2 separate regions of the Homo sapiens genome follow, and region 1 is linked to region 2. Evidence: promoter capture Hi-C in 16 types of primary human blood cells and fetal thymus (Javierre and others, 2016). All regions are on one chromosome and are shown on one strand. The core of a region is centred on a gene start or on the middle of the fragment in contact, and the rest is flanking DNA. Distances in the headings are between cores, read along the strand shown.

Evidence for each region. The method cuts DNA at HindIII sites, captures the fragments that hold promoters and counts their contacts. A CHiCAGO score of 5 or more calls a contact.
Region 1: a fragment that was not itself captured here is called in contact with the fragment with the promoter of NAA15 in region 2 in 5 of 17 cell types (non-activated CD4 T cells, fetal thymus, total CD4 T cells and 2 more); the score reaches 9.8 in non-activated CD4 T cells.

Annotation. Positions count from the first base shown.
Region 1 is chr4:145,617,245-145,621,614 of GRCh38, forward strand. It overlaps MMAA (metabolism of cobalamin associated A), which reads left to right and starts at 2,141. Exons shown (of 7, transcript NM_172250.3): 1 at 2,141-2,163. RefSeq lists silencers at 1,970-2,409, 2,440-2,509. The HindIII fragment of the contact is 749 bases long and covers 1,635-2,383 here.
Region 2 is chr4:139,298,983-139,303,379 of GRCh38, forward strand. NAA15 (N-alpha-acetyltransferase 15, NatA auxiliary subunit) reads left to right here and starts at 2,523. Exons shown (of 20, transcript NM_057175.5): 1 at 2,523-2,849. The coding sequence starts at 2,796. It overlaps NDUFC1 (NADH:ubiquinone oxidoreductase subunit C1), which reads right to left and starts at 3,495. Exons shown (of 6, transcript NM_001184989.2): 1 at 3,434-3,495. RefSeq lists enhancers at 1,914-2,033, 2,514-2,573. The HindIII fragment of the contact is 1,328 bases long and covers 2,088-3,415 here.

The DNA.
Region 1 (4,370 bases), core at 759-3,258, 6.3 Mb after region 2:
TTTGAGACTGGAGTCTCTGTCGCCAGGCTGGAGTGCAGTCGCGCAATCTCGGCTCACTGCAACCTCTGCCTCCCGGGTTCAAGCGATTCTCCTGCCTCAGCCTCCGGAGTAGCTAGGACTACAGGCACGTGCCACCACACCCAGCTCATTTTTGTATTTTTAGTAGACATAGGGTTTCACCATGTTGGCCAGGATGGTTTCGATCTCTTGACCTGGTGATCCACCCGCCTCGGCCTCCCAAAGTGCTGGGATTACAGGCGTGAACCACTGCGCCCAGCCCAGGTTCAAATTTTTTAAATCCTTAAGGCTATCTAGTTGACAGCTGTCTTTAATGTAGATCAGTCCTCCTGCCTTTTTTTATTGTCTTCCTTATTAACCTTATTGAAAAGTCCGAACAAATCACATTCAGAATTTATCTCAGTGTTTCCTCACAATCAGATTCAGGTTAAACATTTTTGGCAAGAGCTCTACAAAAGTGTATTTCCCATAGCCTCATAATGACAGGTTCATATTTTCGCCAGTATTGGTGATGCTAGCAATTTTTTTCCCATGAAGAATCTATTAACATTTTGCAAAACACTAATGTTCCATGGAAATGTGTTCCCTAAGCTGTACTGTTTAGAAAACTTCTGAATAAAAAAGTGACATGCATGAAAGTGTTTGAGTTTGTAGAACGAAAAGCAGGTAAGGATAAACTCAATTTTAAAATTAACAAACTTCTTCACTTCTAAGGTAGCACAAACTGAGCTTTCATCAAACGTAACCCTTACCGAAACAATTGTTCAGATGAGCAACGCCAAGTTTAAAGAAAGGAAGTAAACCGTCTCAAGAACTGTCAATCTGTTTGTGTTCGATAGGCTGAGATTTGAAAGGTTTGATTCTGTGTTCTTTCTACTAGATCCTCGGCTTCATTTAGACTTGTGCTTAATTTTCTGTCATTGGCTATTGAGTCTACAATCAATCTTTGGAGTAAAAGTGGTAGTCTTTTGGTCCAAATAGTAATAATGAAAATGGTGAGACCAGTAATTCATTTTTTATTATTCTGTATTCAGTAAGAATCAACCTGTATCAAATAGCTGAAAAGGCCTGAAGCCTCCCAAATGCATATCATTACACAAATTCTGTGTGAGGACTGACATCTTGGTTTCATATACTAATTATACTGCATGGGCCCCATTTATAACCATATCTACTCGTCATTTGATCCTGGCTACTGCCGATGGATGCTATCTTCATCACATTATAGCAAACATTTGGGTGATTAAGTTTTTCTCAAAAATTCTAGATTAGCATACAACGGCTTTACTACTTATATGTCATCTAAGACGTTTTTTAAGAATTAGTTACTACTACGCCCAACGCAGTGAGGTAGCAAATATTATGCCTGTTTATTTTCATCTCCATTTCAGGCTTGCGCGCCTTTCCCCCCTCGGGACTTCCCGAGGACACCCCTGCAGCAGTGAGCCCGAGTCCTGGCTTTGGCTGCATGTTAAGAAATATTAATCAAAATGAATGCGTGCCCTTTAAGAGAAAAAAACTGTGGGTCCTTCAGCCTTTAAAAACCATGCCGTGGTTTAAAAACTTAAAACTATATTTCGGCAGAACGCTGAGCATTTCTTCAAATCACTCTGAGAAGCTTGAGTGTCTTTAATTTCACCGGTCTGTCAAACGTAACGCGTCTCTCCCTCACCCCACATTTTAAGTTTCCAAGGAGCGGAAGAAGGGCCTCCGGGGGTCCCGGCCGCCGCAGGCTGCTGGGGGTGAGGACACGACTCGGCCTCCGTCCGACTCGAGGGTGTCGCGAAGGCCAGGAGGGAACGAAAGTTACCCTCGAACTTCGGAGGCGAAAGATTTCATGTGGATCTTAAAAAGGGCAAAACCTACCCCAAAGGCCGTAAACCGCCCTCCCCTCCCCCGCCAGAGAACTTCCCGGCGCAGAGCTTCCGCAGCCTGCTGCAGGCCGGGAGACCTTCACGCTCACTCGCTCTCCGCCACACGCCGGAACTGCGCGGCCACGTCCACGGGGACCCTGGCCATGCCCCGCACCGCCACCCAGCCCCAGGCGATCCCCGGGCCCCACGCGCCTGCAGTCGGCGCTGCGCCTGCGTGGGAGGATCCGGCGGAAGGGGCGGGGTCAGGTGGCACTTCCGTGGCTTCGGGCGGGTGAGTATGGGGAGTGCGCGCGGCGTCCAGGAGTCGGGACTGGGCTCCCGCCTACGGCCGCCCTCCCGCCGGGGGGCCAGCGCGGTCCTCCGGGGCGCCCCCTGGAGGATTTGGGGTGGGGGAAGGAAAAGGAGAGTATTATCGAATATTCTCCTAATATTGATGTTCGGGGTGCGGATATGTGTGGACAGGCAGGAGTCGGCAAATGGGTTCAAATGGAAGCTTTAACAAAGAAAGGCCCTGTACGTAAACAGTGTTTTAAAATTCTCATCTTGGTTAGGTTTCTCAGGTTATCTCTGAGCCACAGCAAGGCAGCTTTGTTAAGGTGGCTCTTCCCTTGTCGCTGCCAAACCCGGTAAATGGTTAACCTGAGGCCGCGTCAGAGAAAGCCACTATGACTCCTACCAAAGAGTGAAATTGAAACTCTTTTCTGGGAAATCAAATCCAGGATATAAAAGTTGGATTCAAACTAAAAGTTACAAACAGTATCTAGGTTCCGTCACATGGCGTGCCGGGCAGGGTCTAAATCTCTTTCAGCAGAGGGCATGCTGTCTTCATATGTATTTCTCATTAGAAAATGAAAGACGACCTAAACCAAAATAATATAAAAATTTTTTATTATCTGTCTTAAGAGTTGTACCCTAATCCATATGTTTAGAAAACATAAACTAATAAAACTTTTCCAACTTGGTAGAAAGCCAAAAGTTTCCAGAAAAACTGTGTGGATTATTCAGCATTTTGCTGTTGTCTACAATGTTCAGAATATTCTTTTACAATAATTTTGCACTAAATACCGGTTTGTGTTCAGGGTAACAAGAGGTTTTTAAAAAGTCAAAGACAAGGACAGGTTTTTTAAGGGCTGTATTCTATTAGGAGAGACAAAACAAGCATGAAAAGTTACATATCCATAAGAAATGTAAATCACCATTTGAGATATTTGAAGATGTCAAAAGAAAACCTTTATTTAGAATGGAAAGAGCTGGTGAATGCTCGAAACATTTACCATTTAGCTGATTGTTGCCATGTGGGAATGGGGGTCTCTCAAACGCAGATCCGATTTTCTCCAACACAGGCCAAAGATCTGTATTTTTACGTATTTTTTCTTGATTTTTAATGTTACTTGCAACCAATTTAGTTAACACACACCTTCTGTGGGTGGGCCAGGTGCAACTAGTTTGTGACCTCTGCAGATTTTCACCTTAGTACAGTCCTACACTTACACAATGGTTCAGTTAAAGATTTTTTGACTTTACAGTGGGTTTATCCAGACACAGACCCGATTGTAAGATGAAGACTCTTTGTATTCAGAAATAATTGGAATTAGAGGTCAGAAAAAGTCCTAGAGACTGGGATGGTCAGGAAAGATTTTAAGCTGGGTAGTATAGGAGAGATATCATAGAGGGGGAAGGATGTAAAAGATGAGTTAAATCTTGGGGTTGGGAGAGTTGGCAGGTTTGGAAGATAGTAAACTCTCCTTAGAGGAATTTTGGAAAGGCAAGCGCAAGAGGTGCTGCTGGCCTGGGGACTACACTTTGAGAACCACTGTCCTAGGGTACGGTGAACTTTTGGAGGAATTTGAGTAGGAGGCTAAGGAGATCACATTCACCTTTCAGAATGAGTCTTGCTGTGAAGTCTGAAAGGAGGACTGAGGAGGGAGAGAGAAAAGAGGAAAGTTTCTTAGAGGTGATTAGCACCTGCTTGATGCCAGGCCCTGTGCCAGGCTCTCTCATGCATACTCATTTATACTCACCATGATCCTGATACGTAGATCTTAATGTTTTCATTTTGTAAGTGAAGGAACTTTGAGAATATGAGAAATTACCCAGGTTCCATAGTTGGTCTCAGAGCTTCCTAGTTCAAGCCTGGATTTGAAATAGGGTGGTAGCAGTGGGAATCAAAACATTTAATGGTGATGGAATTTAGAAAAATAGAGACTTCTCAAGCACATTTAAGCCTAAAAGTAGGAATTGGGAAATCTGAATCTTACTGGAAAAGTGATAAAAAGTAAAGTGGACAGAGAACTTTAGAGAATCCCTTCATGAATTTGGTATTTGTTCTTTATTACTCTTAACTCATGATGACCTATTTAAAACCTATTTAAAAGTTGCTTATTTAAGAAGTCATCCTGCTCTACAAAAGTTTCCTGAAATTATTTGAAAAAGAGAAAATAAAGCCTTCTGTGGTTGGGGGGGGTGGAATATGGTAAA
Region 2 (4,397 bases), core at 1,273-3,772:
TTTTTGAGATGTAGTCTCACTCTGTTGTCCAGGCTGGAGTGCAGTGGTGCGATCTTGGCTCACTGCAACCTCCACCTCCCAGGTTCAAGCGATTGTCTTGCCTCAGCCTCCTGGATAGCTGGGGTTACAGGCACGCACCACCACACCCGGCTAATTTTTGTATTTTTAGTAGAGACGGGGTTTCACCATGTTGGTCAGGCTGGTCTTGAACTCCTGACCTTGTGATCCGCCCGCCTCAGCCTCCCAAAGTGCTGGGATTACAGGTGTGAGCCACCAAGCCCAGCCTTTTTTTTTTTTTTAAATAAGATCCAAGTACTTAATAAGATGTAACAGTCTCAATAGAGAACATCTTACATATATGGAGAAATTTCACTCAACATATCCCTTTTGTAGAATTAAAGTTTGCAAGGTAAATGATTTTATTTCTTTCTTTTTGGTTAATATTTTTTAGAGTTAGCATTTGGAACATAGTGACATGCAAGCACATGGGGTAAGATGAATTAACTATCATCAGCAGCAGCAGCGGCAGCATATAGCCTTGGATATGTTAACTTTCTGAAAGCATGGCTGTTACTTACAGTATAACTCAAATGGGATCTCTATTTGTGAAATTGTGGTGATCAGAGTAAATATATATTTTTTTATTCAATTCAGGCTACTGTGTGGTCAGACTGTTATCTGTAGGTGCATTTTAACTAGCAAATGAATCAGTTAAATGTTGAATCAGACTAGTATTTGCCGAGCCTTTAAAATTGCCATTTCTTTGTCATCACCCAAAAAGAATGTAACATTTGCCAAACTCTATTTCTGGCTCATCTAATCAGGTACTCAGGTTCTGGTGGAAGCTACTGATTGTTTCAAAGACCAGAAATTTTCTTCCTCTGAAGGAAAATAGAATATTCTTTACAGGAGAAATTTAGAGAACTATAGCAAATAGTATTGCTGTAGGGATTTTTGGATATGAAGCCAGAAATTTGGATATGAAGCCAGAGATTTGGAAATCCAAGCTAAAACTATCAACTGCATTTAGACTATTTTTTCTGTCTTTCAATAGTTCAGACAGTTGAAAGATCTCTTGGGGCAGTGAATTTTGCAGGTTATTACTAAGTAACAGCTTAAAAATGAATTATAAGCTTGTTCTTAGTTTTATAAAGTTAAGGTTAAAATACTGGCCATATTTCAAACTGAAACATAGTTTCCTGTATATATGATTTTTCTCAAACTTTTGAAGAGAGATCACAGAATTTAAGGAAACTCCAGGATTTGACTGTTAAAAACCTTATTTATGACCCCGGTGAAGGGCGAGGACAATCAATATAGCAGCTACAAAACCCAAGTTTATATTGGGAAACATGTATCTCAACTCACACCTTTCAGGGACAGTTAAGAGAAGTTTGAAAATTAAAATATCTTTGCAAATAAATTTAAAACAGTAAAAAACACGCACATATTGTTTAATAATTCATGATGCAAAGAATGCTACAGAGTGAAATCAGGATTTGGAAAGAGGTAATCAAAAACCAAAGGTTAAAAGTGGCTCATATAACTTGAAAATTTTTAGATCAATGGAATGCCACTTTGAAAAAGTTTTACGGTCAGCTGTTAATGAAATGACTTACATTTTTGGAAGGACTCCTATTCGGTATGTAGTCTGACCTCGCCTACTCGAGTAGTTCCCTCTAGTATCCTTGCCAGTCTTTGGCTTCTAAGATCTGAGAATTTCTGGGGATGGGGAGTTCGAGTCACAATATTAAGAACTAGTTTGAAGCCAGCTCCAGGGTAGTCTGTCTTTAAGTCTCCACTACTCCGCTCCAAGGTGACTCATAAGGTCGGTCCGTCAACTCTGCATTATATGGCCTCAACAACGAAATTAAAACACATACTTTAACCTCCAGAGCCTCCTTTGGCAGTGCAAATATGTCACTTCGGATCTGACTAACTACCTTTCCAGGCTGATCTTAAGCAACATTCACCAAATTACCGATACGACAGCCAGGCCCATTTCATCGGTCAAGCTCTTTCACGATTTCCAGACTCTGTTAAGCCCCTTTCTCCCCAGGGCTGTTAACAAGTCTCCACTGCGGTGAAGCTTTTTTCATTTTCCACTCCGCCTCTGCTCCTTAAATTAGGCATTTCGTCCATAATCAACTACAGCGCTTCTCAAACACCTACACCTGTATTTTAGCACTTTGGGCTCAAACGATGATCACACAGTGTGCGAGACTCTTTCCAAGGAATGAAAGGTCGATCTAGCAGGAAGGCGCCAGAGAGGCTGTTTTTGATGAGGAGGCGGTCTGAACCGTACTTGCCTAGCCTCCCGTAGCTCCGCGGGCGCTTCGAGGGTACCACGCACTGAAATGATGGGCGGGGCCTGCCCCGACCCTCCCGGCCTCCACAGGCAGGCCAGCCTCCAGGTTTCCCGGCAAGCTCCGAAACCCAGAGGAGGTGGGGAAAGGAGGTCACCGCGCCTGCGTGTTAGGAAGCGTGACCCGGGTGGGAAAACCCTCCGCGTCCGCCATTTTGGCTGCCTCTGTCGGTCTGTTCAGTTACCACGTGAACCGCCGACGGAGACCCGTAGTGGGGGAGGCGGCGGCAGCGTTAAGTGAGAAAGGAAAAAAGACAACGAGGAAAAAGGAGGTGTCCGGGTAGGGCAACGCGGCGACACCCGAGGCCTGGTGGTGGCGGCGGATCGAGATATTCAAGGCTGAAGCAGCTACGGAACGGCAGCGGCGGCGGTCGGACAAACTGACTGACCGAGCCGGGTGGTGGCGGGAGCAGCGGGAGCAGCCGGAACGATGCCGGCCGTGAGCCTCCCGCCCAAGGAGAATGCGCTCTTCAAGCGGATCTTGGTAAGTGTGAGGCTCCGGGCAAGCGGTGGGGAGGATTTAGCCGGTAACCGGGCCTGTCACCCCTAACCTCGGCCCGGCGGGCACTGAGCCACTCCCGCCCGGGACCCCGCCTTCATAGCTCTCGTCAGGCCGAATGCATTGCTTTGCTCCCTCTCTGTGGTTCCTACTATGGCCCGCGCGCCAGGGACCACAGGCTTCTTCATTCCATCCCCACGCTTGAGGCCCTGGTTCCGGACTAGGCCCCGACCTCCCGGCTTCTAGACTGCCGGTTCTCATTCTCCCCGATCTGGGGGAGAAGAGGCCCGGCCTTTGGCGGGCAAGTGGGCGACACCGGCAGGAGTCGCGGCCCGGTTGGTGTGGGAACCCTGCTGGCAGGTCGGGGTGGCACCCTTGGAAGGAACAGGTGGTGCGGATGCAGCAGGCTCATTCATTGCCTAAACGCGGTTCTCCCTCCATCATCTGTCCCTCCCTCTTCCTCCTCTCTTGGGATTCACCTGTCTCCGCCCGGCCCGGGGTCACCCAATGACCTGAGAGGAGGGAAAGAAGGAGTTCAGAGAAGGAAAGAAAGCTTTTCAAACGACTACCTCCTTGTAGTCAGTTGCATACTGGAGTCTTCAGCTCCTCTGCCTCCGTTGTTCTCGTTTCTGGAGTAGGGATGAGGCATTTATTTCTTAGTTTCCGAGCGGGAAACAGCCCCACCCCGTCACTCTTCTCGGGAGGTGGGGCCCATTGCGAGGGGGCGGTTCGGTAGGAAGTAAAAAGTTGAGTCTTTAGTTGAAACGTTGCAGACCTAGACTTTTCTTATACACTGAAGTATATTAACACATGCAAAAACTTACCAGAGAAATGAGAATATAAGAACTTTTGAGATGGATTTTGTTGACGCTAGCTCAGACTTATTCCCTACGGTTCAAATGTGTGCAGTTTGTATTTTTTTAAACCATAAATGCATTGATGTTTGCAGGGACTGTTTACATTGTAAAATATGTCCTGTAGCCTTGGAGCTATAATTAACACATTGTAGCACATTTTTTGTTTGGCATTTAGTATGTGGGTTCCCCCTTTCACGCAAACGTTTCCTTATGATAGAATTAACTGTATTTGCCAAATTTAAGACTTTTAAAATTTGGGATGTGTGTGTGAAAGTGTTAGCCTTTTCCCCCGCAGTTATAATTTATTTCACCTGTTTGAAAAGTAGAACAACTCTGGGGATTCAGTTTTTCTAGAAATGAATAATCATCCATTTGAACTAACTTTGATTTTACAAAAGTGTCCATATGCCCTACAGATTTAGTGAATTCATTTTGAAAAACATTAGAAAGTCACATGCAGTGTCGCAAAACTGTTACCTTGAAATTCTTACTGGAATTTTGTTTTGTTTTAAGACTAAGAGTGTAGGTGGAGCTGTAAAATAGTTTTAGGAAAAAAGTTACTTTTAAACCCTTAAAAAGACTAATTGGTGTGCAGGTAGAACTGTAACATAAGTTTAGAATAGCAATTTATCTTTAATCTCTTTTTCACAATTCTTTATTTTGAAAAAAATGAAAC